4 separate regions of the Homo sapiens genome follow, and regions 2, 3 and 4 are each linked to region 1. The links are contacts of gene promoters, found by promoter capture Hi-C in human tissues and cell types (Jung and others, 2019). All regions are on one chromosome and are shown on one strand. The core of a region is centred on a gene start or on the middle of the fragment in contact, and the rest is flanking DNA. Distances in the headings are between cores, read along the strand shown. Region 1 holds the start of TERF2IP (TERF2 interacting protein). Region 2 has its middle 30 kb from the start of LINC02125. Region 3 has its middle 7.8 kb from the start of PSMD7. Region 4 has its middle 22 kb from the start of MIR4719.

Region 1 (2,700 bases), core at 89-2,588:
GGAGGCTGAGGCAGGAGAATCGCTTGAACCCTGGCAGCGAAGGTTGCAGTGAGCTGAGATCGCGCCACTGCACTCCAGCCTGGCGACAGAGCGAGACTCCATCTTAAAAAAAAAAAAAAAGAAACATCATTTCTCTTTTCTTTTTCATTCAGGGTCTGGCTCCGTCTCAGTAACTCCTTGGGGAAAGCGATGGAGAAGGGCTCGCTCACGCAGCACTTCTGGCAGTCCCTGAAGGACCACTACCTCAAGTCTCCCAGGCTGGAGTGCAGTGGCACGACTTCAGCACACTGCAACCTCCGCCTCCTGGGTTAAAGCGATTCTCCTGCCTCAGTCTCCCGAGTAGCTGGGATAACAAGTGCGCGCCACGGGGATTAAGCCCTCTCGTATGCCTCTGGAATGGTACTATGTACCATCTTCCTAGCAATGATAAAACACTCAATTACCTGTGTTCTGTGGTTCAAATGGGGAACGCTAATGAGAATATAAGACAGCCAGTTAAAGGGTGGCTAATCCTGACTTATCTATGTTAACCTACATACTCCAGGGATTTGGGAGTGGTTAACAAAGATATCAGGCTGAATTAAGATGGTCTCTACTGTTAGACGTTGATCACTTAATACTCACAGGTATCTACTGAATAACCCATACGGGTAGATGCATGACAGTTTTAGAACTGATCCCTTTTAATACATAACGTTCAGAATGACCTTAGTGAGGCCCAGAAAATTTTGAAGGTCTTTCTGAAAAGCTAGGGTATTTAACATTTCTCCAACTTCCACGTTTACTGAGTGGCTCAACAAAAGAATGCATTTCTCAGAAAGGAGGATGAAGCTAAGCAGGAAGTTTCGCTTTTCTTTTCTGATAACTCTTAGTTCTCGTCCTAGTTCCTCCTCCACAGTCTCTTAACTCTAGGAGTATGATAGGGAGCATCCCGCCGGTGCCAGCTGGGAACGGGGAGCCGGCGTGCCCGGGGTATCCCGGGGTACGTGGTCTGCAGGGCGCAGCCACCACGTCTCAGCATGTGCGTACCCACGAGAGCCGGCAAGAAGGCCCCGGCACAGCAGCCTTGGTGGGAACCTCGCGGCGCTTCCCAGCCCAGACTCTCCTACCGCAAAGGCTTTAAAGACTCGCAGCGACACTCACTTCTTGCTCAGTTTCGGCTCGCTGCCATCCACTTTCACCTCGGCCGCCTGCACGGCCGCCATCTTCCCGGAGGGCCCGACCCAAAAGTAAGGAGGATAGTACGTTAATTTCCAGGTCAAGGTGCGAAGCCCCACCTCTTCCGGGGGAGAGGGGGCGGGCACTCTCGATGCGCCGCGGCTGCTGCTGCGCAGGCCCAGTGCTGCGCTTCGCGGCAGAGGCGTCTGCGGTGACAGCTCAGTCAGTTGAGCTCTGTGTGCCAGGCGCTCGCGAGGGGGTAGCTCTTCTAGTAGTGCTCGGCGTCAGACATGGCGGAGGCGATGGATTTGGGCAAAGACCCCAACGGGCCCACCCATTCCTCGACTCTGTTCGTGAGGGACGACGGCAGCTCCATGTCCTTCTACGTGCGGCCCAGCCCGGCCAAGCGTCGGCTGTCGACGCTCATCCTGCACGGCGGCGGCACCGTGTGCCGAGTGCAGGAGCCCGGGGCCGTGCTGCTGGCCCAGCCCGGGGAGGCGCTGGCCGAGGCCTCGGGTGATTTCATCTCCACGCAGTACATCCTGGACTGCGTGGAGCGCAACGAGAGGCTGGAGCTGGAGGCCTATCGGCTGGGCCCCGCCTCGGCGGCGGACACCGGCTCGGAAGCAAAGCCCGGGGCCCTGGCCGAGGGCGCCGCGGAGCCGGAGCCGCAGCGGCACGCCGGGCGGATCGCCTTCACGGATGCGGACGACGTAGCCATCCTTACCTACGTGAAGGAAAATGCCCGCTCGCCCAGCTCCGTCACCGGTAACGCCTTGTGGAAAGCGATGGAGAAGAGCTCGCTCACGCAGCACTCGTGGCAGTCCCTGAAGGACCGCTACCTCAAGCACCTGCGGGGCCAGGAGCATAAGTACCTGCTGGGGGACGCGCCGGTGAGCCCCTCCTCCCAGAAGCTCAAGCGGAAGGCGGAGGAGGACCCGGAGGCCGCGGATAGCGGGGGTGAGGAGGCTGAGCGCGGGGCCTCGCGGATATCTGCGCGGGTGGGGTTGGGATCTTTCTCCTGGCTGCCTGGCGTCCATCTTGGCATCTTCGGTAGCAGCGCTTGGCCCCGCCCCCTGTTGACATCCGGGTAAATTTGCACCATTTTCTTGCCTTCTCGCTCCCTTGTTGTTTATTATTGTTCTTTTTTTGCGATGGGTCTCTGTTACCTAAGCTGGTCTGAACTCCTGAGCTCAAGCGATCCTCCTGCCTCGGCCACCCAAAGTGTTGGGATTACAGGAGTGAGCCACCACGTCTGGCCTCTCGTCGTTTTTATTTTTTAATTTTTGAGTGGGGGCTCGCTCCGTCGCCCAGGCTGTGATGCAGCCGCGCGATCACGACCTACTGCATCCTGGACCTCCTGGGCTCAAGCGAATCTCCGGCTTCAGCCTCCCAAGTAGCTGGAACTACACTCCCGCGCCACCACGTCCCGCTAAATTAAAAAAAAAATTGTTGTAGAGATGGGGGTCTCGTTGTGTTGCCCTGACAGGTCTCGAACTCTTGGGCTCAAGCGATCCTCCCGTCTCGGTGTCCCAAAGTGTT
Region 2 (2,700 bases), core at 52-2,551, 1.0 Mb after region 1:
AAAGTAAGTACTACGTGAGTGGAATAATACTAAGGATAAAGCTTCTTCAGGCATGTGGTATTTTTAGAAGATCATTTAATCAATCTGATTCCACGCAATTGATCTGAGTCCATAGGTCTGGTTTGATTGGCATCAGTGATTCCAGTAGTTCCCAGAAACAGCCAGGTGATGAGATCTGCTATAGGATGTTATTTTAGGAACATGGAGATAGCACAGCCTCTTTCTCATGCCGGCACTCATGATGAAGACTAAAGTTGGTTCTGGCCTGTGTCCATGCTGTGCCTAGGGATACAAGCTTGATCCATTCACATATAATGTTAATACGTGAAGACATCTTTCATAATCATTTTGGTAACACACTGTAAGGAGTGAAGAAATGTTGAAATTATCTTGTGTGGTGGATAATACCCAAAGATAGGCACCTGTTACTCCTTCCGTGCACCTCCACGTAGCTGCTTCCATCACGAGATGAAGTCTAATCCACTTCCAGACCTCTTGAATCTGGGCTGCTCTTAACGACTGGCTTGATTAGTAGAATGCAACGGAATTGATCTTCCGGGATTTTGGAAGCAAATCATAGGAAGGTGGCAGCTTCCTATGTCTTCCTTAGTCTTGTTTGGGGGAAAACTGGGTCATGTAAGAAGTCTGATAACCATGAGACCATCATGCTATGAAGAAATACAGTCTAGCCTCATGGAAAGCCTGCCTGGGAGAGAAGATTCCTGATCACCCTGTAGCTGTTCCAGCCATCCCAGTGGAGGTACCTGACAAGTGAGTCTCGAGCTCCAGCCACCATCTAATGGCAACGGTATAAGAGACCTCAGGTGCAAACTACCTAGCTAAGCCCAGCCAACTCTTGTTACTATGACTAATAACACTAAATGATTGTGTAAGCCAATACATTGGGAGTGGGAGGTTGTGCTGCAATATGTAACTAAACACCTGACTTCAAATGGGGATATTTAGCATTTTGTCTTCTCCATTCTGCATTTTAATAACCTCCAAAAGTATCTTCTTGGCATGTTTCTTGTTGTTGTTTATCATATTAGCACCCTGATAAATTATATGCCAAGAGTGTCTTTACTTCAGGCTACATTTCTTGTGTAGGTGTGTGCTTTCTGCTGGGCTGTCAACTCAATGATGCTACAAGCCTCTAAATTCCTTTAAGACTGCAGCACACATTATTTTTTGGCATGCTTTGATTATATCCCCTTTGCTGTCTGTCCCTGAACTCTTTATAGTAAAAATTGATGTTGTGAAGGAAGCCCCAAAAAAAGATCCTGCAAATAATATCAAAGCAGAATATGTATTTATCTCTCTTGTCATATTAGTCATTAACAACACAATATGTTGGTCCCTTCTTAAGATCAATTTCCTCAAAATATACTACTGTTTCTCCTGTGTGAGACTGAAATATTGACTTTAATTTGCATTTTTCCTGATTACCAGTGAGCTTGAACATTTTCTTTCCACGTGTTTATTGCTTTTCAGGTGACTGCTCATACATATTTTGTGCCTTATTGAGTTTTAGGATTTCTTTATACTGGCTGCCTGAATAAGCTATAAAGATACTCCTTGCCTGTGTCTTGTGTTTTGAATCTGTTTATGATTTATTTTATTGCATAGATGTAGCAGTATTTCATGTATGATTGTGCAGCTTTAAGAAAGTCTTCTTTACCCTGATATCCCAAGAATAATTACCTATATATTTTCTAGACATTTTAGATAAGCTTTACTCATTGGGATGTTTAGTATATTTGAGCTTGACTTTGGTATGTGATGTGAGCATGGGATATATTTTTCCTATGGATGTTCAATTTTCCCATTAGCATTTAGTAAAAAGCCATCATTTCTCAGTGATTTGTAATGCCTCCCTTTTTCACAAGCCAGGTTTCCAGGCACACCTGAGTGTGTGTCTGTGCTCAATATTCTCTCATCTTGTCTCTTTGACTGTGTCATATTAATACCATGCTCCATTAAAATGTAGGTAACAGTTTAAACTTTTGTTTCTAGTTACCTCACAGTATGTTTCTTTTGCTATTATAAAGGAGAGTGGTTTTTAAAATTACATTTTGTAATTAATCATTGCTTTTGAGTGTAGCGTGCAAAGGAAGTGAATGTATAACCAGAAGCATTGATGCTGCTACACTGCCTAATTTTTAACCCCAGCATTACCAGCTGGTAGTGACTTGTAATTCTGCTGATTTTTGCCTTCTGCAGTCTGCAGCTCAGTTAATAAAATCAATTATGTTTAGAGTTATACCGCTAAATGACTCTAAAATCCTTTTAAGTATATTATTTGCTAATTCTCTGTGTGTCAGGCATAGCAAACTTGAGGTAGCAGGCACTTCAGTTACATGAAAGGAAAATGTTATAATTAATCTTAACACTTGAAAGAAAATGTTGCTAAATGATTTAAGGTATGGTTATAGTGTGATCTGTCCAGCAGAGGGACTAGCAGAAATAATACATTGAAATTGAAATAGAAATATATTTGTTCCCCCATATTGTGTCACTTAGGTTGCACTCTATTTTCGGCATATTTTGTATAGCATTTTTCTCATGCCATGGACATCTGCATACATTTTTGCCCAATACGCTTTGCTTTTATAGAAAAAATGTTTTCCATTTTAATCATCATTTCTGAAATCCTGGTGACTGTTTTTGTGATAATCACTAATACTGTTCACAAAATATTCC
Region 3 (2,743 bases), core at 244-2,743, 1.4 Mb before region 1:
CCTGGGCGACAGAGCGAGACTCCGTCTCAAAAAAAAAAAAAAAAAAAAAAAATACAAAATTAGCTAGGCGTGGTGGCACATGCCTGTAATCTCAGCTACTCAGGAGGCTGAGACAGGAGAATCGCCTGAACCTGGGAGGTGGAGGTTGTGGTGAGCTGAGATCCCACCATTGCACTCCAGCCTAAGCAACAACAGTGAAACTCCATCTCAAAAAAAATAAAAGAGAAGTTTCCATCTCTTAGTGGCATCCTCCTTTCCCTCTCTTTTCTCCCTAAGGAGTACAGGCACATGGGGAGAGAGGGATGGGGTTTACGTGACTCAGTGGCCATGAAGGAAACAGGCCTATCCCCACACTGGTCCTTGGGCATGCCATGGCCAATGTCTGATGGTCTCTGATGCAATGTCTCCTATGGCCTGGTCACTGGGGGCCTTGTTGGCCTCCAAAGTCTGTTCATGGCTGGTGCACTTGGGACCCTTTCCTGGGCTAGGCTGTTCCAGGGGTGCTCTCAGGACAACCGGTCCCACCTCAGTGCCTCTGAGGTATACCTGTGACTCCAGTTCGGGCCGACTCAGGCATCCTACGCTATGGAATTCAACACAGAGCAGAAGTCTCCCCGACCATTATGGCCTCCTCCTCCTGCCACCTGTGGTCCTGTCCATGTCATAGCAGAACGACTGGTGGCTCAGGCAACCAAACCTGAAAGCCCCCATTCCACAGCCTTCATTGAGCTATCAACTGTGCCACCATGACCAGCTAATTTTTGTATTTTTAGTAGAGACAGGATTTCACCATGTCGGCCAGGCTGGTCTCAAACTCCTGATGTCAGGTGATCCATCCACCTTGGCCTCCCAGTGTGCTAGGGTTATAGGCGTGAGCCACCGCGCCCAGCCACTCCCCACATTTTGGATTACGCTCTGTTAGAGAAATAACATGAGCAGTGCTACTACTTGTGCCCAAATGTTTCACAGAGCTTTTATGAAAGAGCTCTTTCAGTTTTCTCATAAAGCTTACCAACATGGCTTTCTGGACTCAGATATAAGGGGCTGAACTGAGAGCCAACTCTGAGTGGCAGATTCATACTATCCCACGAATCACTACTTTCTCTCCAAAAACTGAGGGTGCGTTTCTGGGCCAAACCAGTGTATCTGACTCTTAAGATGAGTGCCATTGCAGGTCTCTCAGCGACTCATACAATTAGAGATCTAGTGGGCCTACCTTAGTTTGCCAGACATTCCCAAGGATGTCTGAACTCAACAACACATACAGCCTAGGCTAAAGGTGGCATCTCTGCTATGTATTCTTTTTTCTTCAAAATCTCTTAAGATGATAAATAGAGGCTGCAAAGTTCAAAGTATTGCTGAAATGCTTGTAAGACCGTTATTCCTTGTTCTGGACTTAGCAAAAATAACAACTCTTTTAAGATGCTGTAGTCTGTGGGGGCTAACTCCCTAAACTGAAAGATAAAAATGATCAAAGGAGAGGAAAATGTATTATCATCAAACTCTCTTCAGGTTCTCTCAAAGTTAAGTCCAAAATTCAATGAACAAAAGAAAATGGATTTCTTACACCTCCCTTCTGCATTCCTCTGAATAAATTCAGCCCCCATTAGTGGCTACAATATCAGAGATGATTTTATAAGTCAGTTATATTTTTAAAAGGGGAGTGGCAATGTAGAAAATGCCTCCTTTATGATTTCCAGTGGTCTTCTTTATACTCTATGCATTTTAGTCAAAATGATATTTCCATCAGACTCCAATTCTTAAACCTTATTTGACACATAAGAAAAATCAAAACCAATCTTTGATCATCTGATAGCCACTAAATCCTTAATTACAAATTAGAAGGGAAACTCCTTCACGCTTTTTTCATAATAGAGACGTCTACCCCATGCTGAATTGCATCACGTAAGAGATGAAACAACGTCTACTTTGAATCAGACACTAAACACCAGCAAGCATGCTTTATTTAACACATCACACAATGAGAGCTGACTTAAATCTTCTTAACCTAAAAGTTCTGCTATCTTAGAATGCAAGAGCAGTCATCTGATAGTCAAATCAAAAATATTAAAAGAAATGAAGAAAACCCAAAGCAATGTTCCCAAAAGTAAGAAAAGTACATGTAATGAAAGGGATTGACAAGACACAGAAAGAATATCAAAAGCTCCCTGATTACACTGGAAGAAGGCCAAGACTCAGAGCAAAAGTCTCCTGGTCAGTCTTCAAAGATGCACAGCTGAAGGCTCCTGAGCAATTGTGGGACTCAACCACAAAATGTGTAACTAATTATGCCTACAATTAGTTATGAGATTAGGTGATTAAAATTAAAAATGAGAAGTGTTATCAAGTCGAGTAACCCCAAAACAAAGAGGCACAATGGCCGCTACTACACTCTGAAATCAGGTTCTTCAGAACTTTCAAACAAACATTTCATCTAGAAGAACACATGCCGAACTGTTAGGGGTGATTATATGTGGGTGGTGGGATTATGGGAGATTTTTACTTTATAAGTTTTATATTTCTGTACTACGTGAAGTTCTAACAATGAGTGGACATTACTCTTAGGAACAGAAAGCATGCTTTTAGATCTTTTTGGTAAGTATATTTTCAAAAATTAAAAAAGAAAATTATGAAACAGCAGGAGTTTTCATTTTCATTTATTTAAGAGACAGTCTCACTCTCTCCCCCAGGCTGGAGTGCAGTGGCACAATCATAGCTCACTGTAACCTCATACTCCTAGGCT
Region 4 (2,938 bases), core at 250-2,749, 1.2 Mb after region 1:
ATGAGGACAAATGCCTAATGGATGCAGAGCTTAAAACACAGATGACGGGTTGACAGGTGCAGCAAACCACCATGGCATATGTATACCCATGTAACAAACCTGCACATTCAGCACATGTATCTCAGAACTTAAAGCAAAATAAATATATATGTATACTGAAAATGGCTACGTACAAATGTCTCAACCATCCCATTTCTTTGTATTGATAAGAATATAGCTAAATACCCTAACTATGCCATTTGTTTGTATTGATAAGAATATAGCTGAAGCAGATCACTTTCTCATTAAGTTGTCTCATTAGGCTAATCGAAGCAGGTAGCTTTCTCCTCAAGGCCTAAACCACCTTGATACCAAATAACAGCACCACTTTTAATCTCTTTCCACTTAAGTAAGTGCCTCATCCAATAACTGCACACGATACTCATTAATATTGATAAATATTGAAGAAGGAAATAAATCATAATACCTGTGCTTTGTAAATAGCATGGAACAGTGGGGGGAAAAATGCTCCTATCTCTGGGAAGCATGAGACAAATTGCAGAGTCATTATCAAGCACAGCCCTAGGGGCCTGGGGGAGAAAATCTGCTGGTCCCAGTCTGAGACTGAAAATTTAACATGCGCAGAACCTGGCCAGAAAGTCAAAAAAGTTGACATGACCAAATCATGAGTAACTTGGTTTCTCTCTTCCTGGAGAGACAGTTAATCTCAGTGTTGATAAAAAGGAACTCCTTAGTGTCCTGTAGCCAAAGTTAAACAAGAGAAAATATTACATTCACTTTTGGTGAATGTAGCCACCAGCAGAAAAAGTCACTAAAACTAGGAAACTTGCTTCCATTGAGACTGTTTTTCCAGGTACCCAGAGCTGTCTAGATAGGTTGTTTTGTAATGAACGGCCACTTTCTTCCTAAGAAATACCTTCTTCCATAACAGCTGTGCAAAGCTAAGGAAACAAAGTGGAGATTCATTTCTCAAGTCATCTGTAAGAAGCTGTTTAATTTTATTCACTTGGTTCCAAACTCAAAGCCCTATAGTTATTCTAAAGATCTTATGGGAAAAGAGAATTTCAGTCCTCCATGGGGCCCCCTCCATGGTAAGGGGATCATGGCTGTGGCACTACCTTCCCAGTGAAGCCCATTTGGTTCATATAGCAGGATGGTAGGTGACCCCTTAGAATCACTGTACATAATGACACCCATCTCATAAAACATCAGTGCATGCTCAGGAGACATTCCTGGAAAAAAATTTAAAAAAAAATTTAATGCACACTCTCATACTCACACACATCACATGAAACATACACTCACACATATTCATAACACAAAATTAAGACACATGCAGACCACAAACACAACAGATGCTACACATATGAGTATCCACAAATATTAAATGTTAAATTTAAACTCTATTGCTGTAAGTTGTCCTGAGTCACTTTCGTTTGTAAATTAAAAGATTAGAACTTGTTCAAGATGTAAAACACACTTAAAAATCTGTGTCTAGTTTTGTCTTTAGTTTTCTTTCCAGTTAATATTTTCCATAGTTTCTTAGTTTTGCTATCCTTCTAACCTAATTGCTCTAATTTTTAAGTATGATCAGTGGGAAGAAGAAAAGAATCCATCATTAAAAATAACCTGAACATAATTTTCTAAGTGTTTTCTTTCTAATTTTTGTGGGTACATAGTAGGTGTATATATTTATGGATTACATTAGATATTTTGATACAGGCATGCAACGTGTAATAATCATATCAGGGTAAATGGGATATCCATTACCTGAAGCATTTATCCATTGTATTATAAGCAATACAATACCATCTGAGTGTTTCCTTAAGTAACTGTCTTCTCATCACATATATCATATATATTATATATGTATATCATGTATATAAAGCAACATCATAAATATTAAACAGTATCATATATATGTGACTATAACCATATGTGTATGTAACTATCAATTACATGTCTCTTTATATATGAAGAATGAAACAATTCTTCTAGTCAGCTTGAAATGCTGACAAGCTAGAAGCATTATTTGTCTTTATTTTTGGAGTAAAGGAACCGGCACACCTGTTCTTCACTTGCACATCAACTTTCAAGTGAGTTTGGCAACATTAGCTCTTGTTGCTATGCAAGATATATCTGGTCTTCCTGAAAAGGCTACCTTATTTGAGAACATGACAAGGCTCACAAAAAAGTACAATGCAAACAATATAAGAGCTTCATATGAATGACATGACATTTTTACCCATTGGTGTTTAAACGTCATCTGCATCAGTTTTGAAGGAGTATTATGTATACGTGGTTTGTTCTTTGCATCAATATTTCTCTCTGGATCCTCCAAAGACTTAGCTGAAGCATGTGCTCTTATTTTTCTGACAGAATGATGTGAAAATATCTGTGCCTGTAAGGATAATTTCATCTTGTATATTGGTATTTTGCTTCCTCTAACCAAAACCTTATCAATGTTTATTTTCTTGTTTATGTGTCATTTCTTCTATTCTTGACCAGACTTTCTGTTGTAATACTATAAGAACAGATTCATGTAATCAGTGATAGATACAAGGATTTGGGCCTGTTTTTGGATGACTTGTTGGTAACGGTATAGTTGGATGGTGTTCAGTTGGGAATTTTTCTCTTTTTACCAGAAAGCTATGCTATGTTGATACTTTACATCCACATACAATGTTGATACTTAGATGGCACACTGAGACATATAAAAGACCCAGCTCCAATCATTTGAGATGTATTTGTAAGAAGGTATCAAATATTTTTTAAAATCACTATTGTCATATTTTTCAAACAAATTTACTTTTATACATAAAAGATGCAAAGCAAAATTCAATAAGATTGTTTTATTGAGCATCAAAGACTCCATTTAGGAGGCAGATGATAAAGGAGTCAAGCAAAGAAAGCTCAGTGGGCCCATTCTCAGAAACAA

The links. Contacts are between HindIII fragments. The study calls those that stand out against the background at their distance.
Region 2: a contact is called between a fragment that was not itself captured here and the fragment with the promoter of TERF2IP in region 1, in 1 of the 25 tissues and cell types used here (dorsolateral prefrontal cortex).
Region 3: a fragment that was not itself captured here is called in contact with the fragment with the promoter of TERF2IP in region 1 in 1 of the 25 tissues and cell types used here (lymphoblastoid cells).
Region 4: a contact is called between a fragment that was not itself captured here and the fragment with the promoter of TERF2IP in region 1, in 1 of the 25 tissues and cell types used here (lymphoblastoid cells).

The regions. Positions count from the first base shown.
Region 1 is chr16:75,646,435-75,649,134 of GRCh38, forward strand. TERF2IP (TERF2 interacting protein) reads left to right here and starts at 1,339. Exons shown (of 3, transcript NM_018975.4): 1 at 1,339-2,118. The coding sequence starts at 1,449. It overlaps KARS1 (lysyl-tRNA synthetase 1), which reads right to left and starts at 1,231. Exons shown (of 14, transcript NM_005548.3): 1 at 1,144-1,231. The coding sequence starts at 1,205. RefSeq lists enhancers at 1,084-1,263, 1,303-2,260, 2,194-2,463, 2,261-2,700 and a silencer at 1,764-1,883. The HindIII fragment of the contact is 7,104 bases long and covers 1-2,700 here.
Region 2 is chr16:76,663,631-76,666,330 of GRCh38, forward strand. No RefSeq gene overlaps it. Among named protein-coding and RNA genes, the nearest start is that of LINC02125, 30 kb to the left of the region's middle. The HindIII fragment of the contact is 3,222 bases long and covers 1-2,700 here.
Region 3 is chr16:74,287,665-74,290,407 of GRCh38, forward strand. No RefSeq gene overlaps it. Among named protein-coding and RNA genes, the nearest start is that of PSMD7, 7.8 kb to the right of the region's middle. The HindIII fragment of the contact is 4,708 bases long and covers 1-2,743 here.
Region 4 is chr16:76,889,187-76,892,124 of GRCh38, forward strand. It overlaps the pseudogene LOC100128497. Among named protein-coding and RNA genes, the nearest start is that of MIR4719, 22 kb to the left of the region's middle. The HindIII fragment of the contact is 4,659 bases long and covers 1-2,938 here.